Regions from separate parts of the Homo sapiens genome. Here regions 1 and 3 are each linked to region 2. Evidence: promoter capture Hi-C in human tissues and cell types (Jung and others, 2019). All regions are on one chromosome and are shown on one strand. Each heading gives the region's core, a stretch centred on a gene start or on the middle of the fragment in contact. The rest is flanking DNA. Distances are from core to core; before and after follow the strand shown.

Region 1 (3,368 bases), core at 573-3,072, 280 kb before region 2:
TTTTTTTTTTTAAAAAGCATGAAACAGCATAACCTGTCCAGGAACCTGCAAAGAGACCACTGTTGCTGGAGTTGATGGGGGAAAACGGAGAGGAAAGAGAAGCTGGAGAACAGGATAAGAAGCCAGATCAGAATGGCCTTTGCGACCAATGTTTAGGCTTTTAATTTTCCACGCAATGAGGAGCCACAGAGAAGCAGGATCACAGCTGCATTATGGAGCAGCACCTCAGGTGGCAGTGTGGGAGAGAGATGGGGTAACTGGTAAGCACGGAGGCTGGTAAACTCCGATGCAGTCTAGGTGAGACCAAAAGGCCGGGGCTAGGGAAATGGTACTAGGGCAGGACTGCCTTCTAAAACACTTACTGCTACCTGCTTACTGCTATTTGGTTAGTTAACTTTCTGTTAACTTTCTCAAAATACAAGAGTCTGCTATCTGGAGTTACTTGGCTAGTTAACTTTCTGTTAACTTTCTCAAATTACAAGAGTCAAGACAATGACTCTGTCTTGCTCACAGCTATATTCCCAGTTCTAGAACAGAGTCTTCTATACAGCAGATGCTCAGCAATTACCTGCTAAATCAATGAACAAATCCCTTGAGGGCAGGAACCCTGGCTAACTCACATGTATATATATTCCTCAACACTTTCAGTAGAATGTTATATATGAAGAATGCTCAAAGACATGTGTTTTTTGTTTTGTTTTGTTTTGTTTTGGCACATGCCCTGGATTTTTCCAAATAATGACATCGAATTTTCTTGGTGAAAAGTTCAAAGACTGAATGTTTCCAACCATCAGCTTTGCACAACCCACCTGGGCATCTAGCAATCCAGCTGGGCACTTTCTGCTTTGTAAATCATTGCTGGCAACAAAGCCTGGCAATTATAGAGCTCAGCTGCTGGTTGTGCTAACAATGGTCTGGACAGCCAGCAACACCGTGGCCCTCCTGTGTCTGTGCGACGCATCAACGTGCATCAGGAGGGAAGCAGCCACTGCCAGAGGCAAGTTAGCAGGCTAATGCCTCCTCACACTGCCTCACAACCCATAACCAGTACCTTTGGGGAAAATTTTCCCCACAGAGGAAGGACAAAGGGGTTTAATTTCTCTGTTATATGAAGAACCAGTAAAAGGACAGTTTTATAGCTCTTCTGAGTGGAACAGACCAGGCTCAAATCATGCGCTTGACTGACTCATTGCCATGGTTTACACAGGTCCTTCAACTGCCAGCTTTAAGTCAGATGCCTGCTCACAGGGACTCATCCAACAGTAGGTTGGCTTTAGAAAAGCGTTCTGTACCTCTGAGAAACAGGACCTCGATGAAGTCTTCACTGATGTCAATCAAGAATCCTTTCTGGGGGATTCACACTGTGTTCACTACACAAGGGCATAAGCACAGGCAGGAAACCAAGACTCAGGCCTGGGTACAAATCCTGACCTCCACCTGCCAGCTGTATGACTTCAAGTAAGTGATTTAACCATTCTCAAGTGTTCCCATTTGTAAAATGGGAATAATACCCCCATCTTACAAGGCTCCAAAGGGATTCAATGAGTGAACAGGGTCTCACTCTGTTGCCCAGGCTGGAGTGCAGTGGCACGATCATAATCATTGCTCACTATAGCCTCAAACTCCTGGGCTAAGTGATCCTCCTGTCTCAGCCTCCCAAGTGGCTAGGACTACAGGTGCACATGACCATACCTGGCCAATTTTTTAATTTTTGGAGAGACGGGGTCTCACTATATTGCCCAAGCTGGTCTTTAATTCCTGGGCTCAAGTGATCCTCCTGCCTTCACCTCCCAAAGTGTTGGGATTACAGTCATGAACCACCACGCCCAGCCCCAATATTTAACGAATGCTCGTCCCTTCTGTTACCCCGAGTGGGATTGGAAGGTTGGTGAAAGGCTGCCTTATATGGAGCAGGCCTCATGGGGGTATTACACACAGGGAGAAGAAAGAAGCTCATGGGAGGGAAAGTATGGAAACTGACAGTGGCAGCTTCTGCCTCTTCTATTCTTGAGAAAGTTACACAATGTGAGTGACAGAGGCTGTCCCAAGTACATAAAGGACTAATCTGTTTGCAAAGGGAGGAAATAGCATAGGATGAAGATTGTAAGTTGTTTGAAGCTTCTTTCCTAATTACCACTCATAATGAAAATTTAATTGCCAAGTTAAAAGCAAATTTCACTTTTTCTGTCATAGAATCTCTGCAGAAACTGGCACATTTTGTTTGAACAGGAAATCAAAGTTATTTTAATGCTTAAATGAGATCTAAGGAGCTGCAGATGTTTCACTGGGAATAACAAACTTCAAAATTCTGCTTTACTGGGTTGTAGCAATTCATGGCTACAGGGAGAAAGAAACGCTGTTTTAAGCTGAGTAAACCAAAGCAGTGGGAGGAATTCAAATCCAAGTACCCCAGTGTTAGGCACTCTGGGGACGAGGTGTAGGGAGAGGGTGGTACAGAGAGAAAATTTCTGGCATAGAGGCACTTACAATTGAGTAAGAGAGAGAAAAGCAGGAAATATCCCAAGACTAGGAAACTGAAATTTAAAAATTTTGGGGTCATGGAAGAATAGCGAGAAACAAAACACATACTGTTGCCTCAATTCTGACCCACATGTGCATCAGCTCAGTCAGAAAGACTGCTCACCTGTAAGGTGCTGGTGAGGAAGTTGTCTTGGGAGACAATGTCTACGAAGAAGTCAGCGGGGATCTCACCAAGCTGGTGGTACAGGATGGAGATGAGGTTGATGTAGAGGGTGTGGTGCTTCATCATGGCTGCTTCTGACCGGCACAGGAGGTTCAGGAGCCGCTTCCAATGCTCAAATGCCTCGTACACATTCCCCAGCAGGAAGCACACAAAAGCAAACTGGAGTTCACCTGAAAGGTGCAGAGAGGAGAAGTGATTCTGAGGGAGAGGAGGACCAGCTGACACTCTCCATCACTATTCACAAGGCCATGAATTCCACTGGACCTCAGCAACAGATGAGCTTTTATCCTTGTCACTCCTGCAGAGCCTGGCAGGAGATTTTGCACCTAACAGGTACTCAATAGATGTCTGCTGAACCGCTATGAATTCAAGCCATGGGAAACCAACCTGTGGCTTTGGATTTCTATAAAATCAGACTGCTAGAGAAGAGGTATTCCCAGTATTTGCCTGGCATTTTAAGTTTACAAAATGTGTTCATGGATATTATGCCAAGTGGATTTCAAACCTGGCTGCCCATCAGAATCACTGAGAGTCTGTTAAAAGTAAAGCTACCCAAGCTTCACCCTCAGAGGTTCTGGTGGAGGAGAGATGATGGGGCCTTCGTATCTGTAGCTCTAACAAGCTCCCCAGGTGATTCTAATGTGGATGGTCTGCTCCAGGGTCA
Region 2 (3,427 bases), core at 61-2,560:
ACCATGTTGAAGAGCAATTTGGCAACATTATATAAAGTTGAGGATGTGTGTACTTCACAATGGAAGAATTGTATGTACTTTATATGTCCTCTTCAGAGAAACATACATGTACAAGGGGATAGCCATGAGGGTAATCATGGCAACATTGTGTGTAACAGTGAATGGCTGAAAACAAATGTTCATTAGTAGGGATCGAAGGGATCAATACATTATGGTTCAGTCACAGGATTGAACACAGCACTAAGTCTGTGTGTGTCAATGTGGATAAAGCTGAAATGATTTTGAGTGGGAAAAAAGAACTATGATGCTATTTATGGTATCATTTTTAAACAGTGTGCCACATACTATATATTGTTTATGGATACATACACATGTGATAATATATAAAAATATAAACAGGAAGGGTGACACCAACTTCAGGAAAGTGGTTACTATTAAAGAGAAATAAAGGGGCATGGGATGGTAAAGAGCTTTCCCTACACCTGTAATGTTCTATTTCTTAAAAATTAGATATCTATGGAAATATGGGGAAAGGTACTTTATGAATAAAATTAATACTTACTGAGTACAATTTACTATTGTCAGGCATTATCCAAAGCACTATTCTGATATGTAAATCATTTAATCAGTAAATTTATGCAGTAGGTACTAGTATTATCATCTCACTTTACAGAGGAGAAAATAAAGGCACAGCAAACCAAGCAACTTGCCTGGGGTCACATGACTAATAGGTGATAGGGATTTAAACCTAGGTAGTCTGGCTCCAGAGTTCACAAGCTTAACCTATGACTCAATGTTGCTACCCTGACTCTATCCTCCCTCGTTCTCTCTGGATCTCATAATAGCAGGAAGAGTGGGTACAGAACAGGACTCAGTGGCTCTGAGTGTGGCTTATGGCTTGCCCAGTGTGGGGGGCTGGTAGGCTACAGGGCAGGGGTCCCTCCTTTGTGCCATGCTGTGACTCCAAAAGGTACAGGATGGCCACCATTCATCCAAGACCCCTCCTACACCTGCATCGACCTTCCTCAAAACACCTGTCTGTTCAGTCTTCTGCTCTTCCCTCCCAGGGCCCTTGCCCCTCCTCACCAGTTCCTTCTTCAGGAGCTGCCAGGCATAAGTTACCATATGTCTCCTCATGGTTCCTGTGCAGGCAAATGGCACAACTAGCCCCTTTGCCTTTCAAGGGGAGGACTACAAATTTTTCCCCAAAAATCCAGTAATACTAGAAACAAATAGATTTCCTCAGTAACAAGGCAAGAGCTCCACTCCACTCCTCCTACCATACCATCAGCTACTGGAAGCCCTGCTCTGAGAAAAATCATTCTCAGAATCTCCTAAGGTCACAATGAAAGATTCTGGAGGCAGGGGACACAGGGATTGGAATGTGGGAGTCTAACATTTATGGGATACTCACAGGCATTATCTCAGCTAATCCTCACAACCACCCAAACTTTTACTCAACTCCATACATAGGAGACTGGGGCTCAAAGTAGCTAAATGGCTGCCAGAGTCCTGGTGAGACAGGAGAATGGCACAACCCTGCTGACCAAAACAGGATCTAGGACCCCCTAGCTGTCCCCATCCCTCATTAACATAAGACACTCCTACCAGTGCCATGACAGTGTACAAATGTCTTGGCAATGACCAGGAAGTTGCTACCTCTTTCCTAGAAAACTCTAAAAACCCACTCCTTAATTTGCATTAACCTGCCCCTTAATTTGCATTAGCCTGCCCCTTAATTTGCATGTGATTGAAAGTGGGTAGGAATGCGTATACTACACTTGATCTCAGCCAAAAGGCTGAGAAGGGATTAGAGATGAGCATAAATACAGTTGCCAACATCTCATACACTGGGTATCGACTCCGGATTCATTGCCCATGAGTTAGCCCTGCCCCACAAGGAGAAGCACTATTCAATAAAAGATTGCTGTCTAACACCACTGGCTCACCCTTGAATTCCTTCCTTGGGCAAAGCCAAGAACTCTCCTAAGCTAAGTCTCAATTTGGGGGCTCACCTGTCCTGCAAAGATAGGGCTTTTTTGTTTTTTGAGACACTGTCTCACTTTGTTCCCAGGATGGAGTGCAGTGGCCCAATCTCAGCTCACTGCAACCTCTGCCTCCCAAATTCAAGTGATTCTCCTGCCTCAGCCGCCCAAGTAGCTAGGATTACAGGCGTGTGCCACCATGCCCGGCTGATTTTTGTATTTTTAGTAAAGACAGGCTTTCACCACGTTGCCCAGGCTGGTCTCAAGCTCCTGACCTCAAGTGATCCACCCACCTCAGCCTCCCAAAGTGCCGGGATTACAGGCATAAACCACCACTCCTGGCCAGGGCCTTTTTTTTTTTTTTTTTTTTAAGAAAGCAGTGTAGCTAAATGTCAGGTACACTTGCTCTCCATTTGTAGCATCCAATTAACAGAAGCAAGGTCTGGTCCAGCCTGGCCAATGTGGTGAAACCCCATCCCTACTAAAAATACAAAAAAATTAGCCGGGTGAGGTGGTGGGCACCTATAATCCCAGCTACTCGGGAGGCTGAGGTGGGAGGATCACTTGAACCCGGGAGGCAGAGGTTGCAGTCAGCCAAGATTGTGCCACTGCACTCCAGCCTGAACGACAGAGCAAGACTCTGTCTCAAAAAAAAAAAAAAAAAAAAAAAAAAAAGCGGGAGGGGGAATTGGCATAAATGGCATGCAGAGGAGGGAATGAGCAGGTGGGAGTCTCCATGACTCACTTTGGTGCCTTATCTACCGCCTGGTCGAGCTGCCACCATCTTGGGCAGAACTAGGTTGTAAAGTGGCCTTGTCTCGAGATACTCTCCAGGTGGGGCAGAGTTTCCTGGCAGGCATACTTTTGGTTGTAAATTGACTATTGTCTCTCAAGGCAATCTGGTGGGAGAGGTTTCTACTCTGGAGCTTTTAAGTAAGCACACAGATACACTTGCTCTAGGAGTGTCTGGTGAAGGGAAAGCAAAAGGTTATAACTGCATTTCTAATCAGCTAAGTAGGAAGTGGGGAACAGAAGAAAAACACAAAAGAGAAAGAAGAAAAAGATGATTTAAAAAGATAACTCATTCTCTATCTCATAGAAAAATGGGTGTACTTTGTTACAGCGGGAGGCTTCTAGGCTGGGAGTAGGTTCATCCAGCACCTTAGCCCAGGGACCACTCTGAGACTTAGAACTTGGAGGCCCTGGAACGTGGGTGCATAGTACTGTCCCATAAGTCTGGTTAAATCAGGACAATAAAAAAAAAACTCAGCAAAACAGAAGACCTCACCCAAATCAAGTGTCAAATATTGAATGGAACTTGGTGACTAGAACTCAAATCTCTGGAGTCCTTCTAAAGATATAGAAAAATATAGGCTCTAAAGTGCTTTTTTCTATTAAAGATGACAATTGAGTATCTCAATTTGCTCTTGCACCAGGATCCT
Region 3 (3,739 bases), core at 128-2,627, 260 kb before region 2:
GAGAATTACGATCTGACTTTCTCAGTACTCTCATCAACCTCTAAACATGGAAAAACCTCAGAGGGACAAGGAAGCAGGTTCACCTTGCTGAGCCCCTTCTGTAGGCAAGACACAGATCCAGTATATCACAGGTGTTGTTTAGTTATTACAGCAACTCCAATGTATACATTAATGACATTTTGCAGATGAGGAAACTGAGGTCAGAGAGGTTCCTCTGGGCACACAGCTACCAAGGTGTTTCTAGCTCCAAAACCTAGTTGTATCCATCTATTCCTTCCTTCCTTCGTTTCGTTTTTTGTTTTTTGTTTTTTACAGGGTCTTGCTCTATTGCCAGGCTGGAGTGCAGTGGCGCGATCATAGCTCATTGCAGCCTGGACCTCCTGGACTCAAGCAATCCTCCCGCTTCAACTTCCCAAGTAGCTGGGACTACAGGTGCCAGCCACCACACCCAGTTAATCTTTTACATTTTTTATAGAAACGAAGGTCTCATTATGATGGCCAGGCTGGTCTTGAACCCCTGGGCTCAAGTAATCCTCCTGCTTCAGCCTCCCAAAGTGCTGGGATTACAAGTGTGAGCCACTGTGCCTGGCCCCTGGTCAAAATTGAGTAGAAAGAATACTACTCAAAGAATATTACTCAGTAGCAAAATTACTACATCCTAACTGGGCATTGGTTTTGGTTTGGTTTGGTTTGGTTTTTCCTTACAGTAACAGGCTGCACTTTAAGTTTGTGCATCAATTAATGAAGTGGCTGTCCTATAAGTCAGTGTAATCATTATTCTGGGTATGTGGGATGTCTTCGTAAGCCCATAGACACTTCAGAAGTACCAAAGACATCTAAACAATACAGTGTTATGATTTATTCTTCTTGGTTTATTACAGCACAGCACAGTCCCTGCGTGCAGCATTTTGTTAGCCTATTTCAAGTTAATGGTAATAGTAGTCATAATGAGCTTTTATTAAGCACTCGCGATGTGGTAGGCAGTGTGCTAACTACCATGCTGCATGGATGATCTTGGTAGCCCTAGGAGACAGACGTTATGAAAAGTGGGTGTGGTGAAAAGGTCAAGACCATTGGGTTTTGGAGTCTAACAGATTGGGTTTCACTCTCTAATCAATCCATCATGTTCACAGCTTCATGACTGTGAGCAAGCCACTTAACATCTCTGACCCTCAGTTTCCTCATTTGTAAAATGAATGAGCAGGTAACAGTACTTGTGTTGAGTGCACAGCCTGGTGCCTGGCACAGGGTAAGCTTTCCATAAATTATAGCGATTGTTATTACTGTGATGATCATTGCCATTTGGCTGACGAGGAATCATAGGCTGAAAAGTTTAAATGATTTGCTAAAAGGTCACACAGCTAATAAAGGGCAGGGCTTGAGACTCTGCAGGAGTACAGAGCTCTTCCTTGGGGTACCAAGAGGCATCCATCCATTAAGCCAATGTTTCCAAGCACTTTAAAAAGGAGTTTTTGAATTCAGAGGAGACCTCTTCTAGAATTAGTGAGTCTGACTGTATTAAGAGTCAGACTTGGGTTCTACTTGACCATAATTACTGGTAAAGCATGTGGGCAGAAAAGGCAAGGGAGAGAAACTTCTGGCTTGCCAGGGCAACATAAACAAGGTGACCTTTACAGAACAACCCAGAAGAGAGAGAGATGGGGCATGGTGGTGCGTGGGGCAATGGCAGCAAAGAAAGAACTAAAGAGAGGCGAGGAGGAGGGAATGAGACAGCAAAGGGAGCAGTGAGGTGGGCAGATGTGAAAGACTGCATCGCGGCGGGGTGGGCAGGATGTGGAGGCCAGGATGAGGGCTCTGAATGGCTAGGGAAATGGGAAGGCGGGAGCCTGGGGGCCTGGTTCTGAATGCCCTGGGAAAGATGAGGAGGCGTGAGAGAGGGAATGGAGAAGAGATGAGAAAAGCACAACAGATACCCCAGGAAAGCAAATAGCCAGAGGACTGTAATTGGAAGGGGGCTCGCTCCACCTCTTCATTTTGCAAGTGAGGAAACCGAGTCCTCAAGCGGGAAGAAACGGACCTACGGTCACACACCAGTCAGTGGAACAGCTTTAGAGCCAGGTCCCTGGATTCCCAATACAGAGTTCTTTGCATCAATGCTACTATACCTGGCTGCACGCGGACTCCCTAAGGACCAAGGCAGAAATGAAGATTCCCAGGCAATACAGGTCCCAGGTCCCAGTCCAGTCTTTCTAAATCAGACTTTATGGAGAGGGTTCTCCAGTGCCTGTATTTTAAACAGGCTTCCCCAGGTGATACACCCAGCTCAGCAAGTGGCCTACACTCTACCACTCTGAGATTTGGGAGGAATAAAGGAAGAATGATTGAAAAACTGAGGGGATAGGAATGACAATCACTTGTATGAAGGTCTGAGGAAGCCTGGGAGGTAGGCTCCGCCCATGGCCAACCTACACTTCTAGACCAGTGCTGTCCAATAGAAATAGAATGTGAACTACATATGCAATTTAAAATTTTCCTAGATAGGTCCAGGTGCAGTGGCTCACACCTGTAATCCTAGCACTTTGGGAGGCCGAGTCGGGCAGATCACTTGAGGTCAGGAGTTTGAGGCCAGCATGGCAAATATGGTGAAACCCCGTCTCTACTAAAAATACAAAAATTAGTTGGGTGTGGTAGCACACGCCTGTAGTCTCAGCTACTTGGGAGGCTGAGGCACGAGAATCACTTGAATCCGGGAGGTGGAGGCTGGAGTAAGCCAAGATCGTGCCACTGCACTCCAGCCTGGGTGACAGAGTGAGACTCCGTCTCAAAAAAAAAAATTTTTTTCCTAGATAATAGATTTTCTAGATAACACTTCCTAAATTTTCTATATATTTCTATTTTTCTAAAAATTTCTAGATAAATAGAAAATTTTAATTTCACAATTAAATTTCTCAATTTTAGTTTCCATTAAAAAGTTTAAAAAGAAACAGGTGAAATTAATTTAATTTTATTTTATTTTTGAGACGGAGTCTCGCTCTGTTGCCCAGGCTGAAGTGCAATAGTGCCATCTCAGCTCACTGCAACCTCCGCCTCCTAGGTTAAGGCAAATCTCCTGCCTCAGCCTCCCTAGTAGCTGGGACTACAGGCACCCACCAACCCCCACTCCTAATTTTGTATTTTAGTAGAGACAGGGTTTCACCACGTTGGTCAGGCTGATCTCAAACTCCTGACCTCAGGTGATCCACTTGCTTTGGCCTCCTAAAGTGCTGAGATTACAGGCATAAGCCACCGTGCCTGGCCAGATGAAGTTAATTTTAATAGTACATTTTACCTAACCTGATGTATCCCTTATCATTTAAATATGTAACCAATGTAAAAATTATTGAGATTATTTACTTTTTTTATATTAAATTTTCAAAATCCTGCATGTATTTCACCCTTAAAGCACATTTCTTTTTAGACTAGCCAATTTCAAGTCCTCAATAGCCACATGCGGCTAGTGACTACCATCCCAGACAGCACAGAAAGAACACTTCCATCACTGCAGAAAGTTCTGCTGAACAGCCCTAGTCCAGACCAGAGGTTAGCAGCCTTTCAGAGCAGCAGGAAAATGTTTCAGTGCTTTTTCTTCTGACATTAAGGGGTCTGGTAATCAAAGGAAGAGAAACATTCTCGTATCTTTCTAGAAAAGACTGGTTTCATTCATTCAAGGAAAAGGGCAAAAAGGAGACCAGCAATTATATTTGTGGGGTCTTTGAGATGGATTTTTTTTCATTGTGGT

The links. Contacts are between HindIII fragments. The study calls those that stand out against the background at their distance.
Region 1: a fragment that was not itself captured here is called in contact with the fragment with the promoter of CNBD2 in region 2 in 5 of the 25 tissues and cell types used here (dorsolateral prefrontal cortex, mesenchymal stem cells, mesendoderm cells and 2 more).
Region 3: a fragment that was not itself captured here is called in contact with the fragment with the promoter of CNBD2 in region 2 in 1 of the 25 tissues and cell types used here (IMR-90 fibroblasts).

The regions. Positions count from the first base shown.
Region 1 is chr20:36,244,203-36,247,570 of GRCh38, reverse strand. It overlaps AAR2 (AAR2 splicing factor), which reads right to left. Exons shown (of 4, transcript NM_001271874.2): 3 at 2,645-2,874. Among named protein-coding and RNA genes, the nearest start is that of AAR2, 9.4 kb to the right of the region's middle. The HindIII fragment of the contact is 4,125 bases long and covers 1-3,368 here.
Region 2 is chr20:35,966,473-35,969,899 of GRCh38, reverse strand. CNBD2 (cyclic nucleotide binding domain containing 2) reads right to left here and starts at 1,310. Exons shown (of 12, transcript NM_001365709.1): 1 at 1,087-1,310. The coding sequence starts at 1,137. It also overlaps the pseudogene LOC124904982. The HindIII fragment of the contact is 12,223 bases long and covers 1-3,427 here.
Region 3 is chr20:36,223,885-36,227,623 of GRCh38, reverse strand. The region is part of intron 21 of EPB41L1 (erythrocyte membrane protein band 4.1 like 1); the gene reads right to left. The region is part of intron 1 of LOC105372602 (a long non-coding RNA gene); the gene reads left to right. Among named protein-coding and RNA genes, the nearest start is that of AAR2, 11 kb to the left of the region's middle. The HindIII fragment of the contact is 5,078 bases long and covers 1-3,739 here.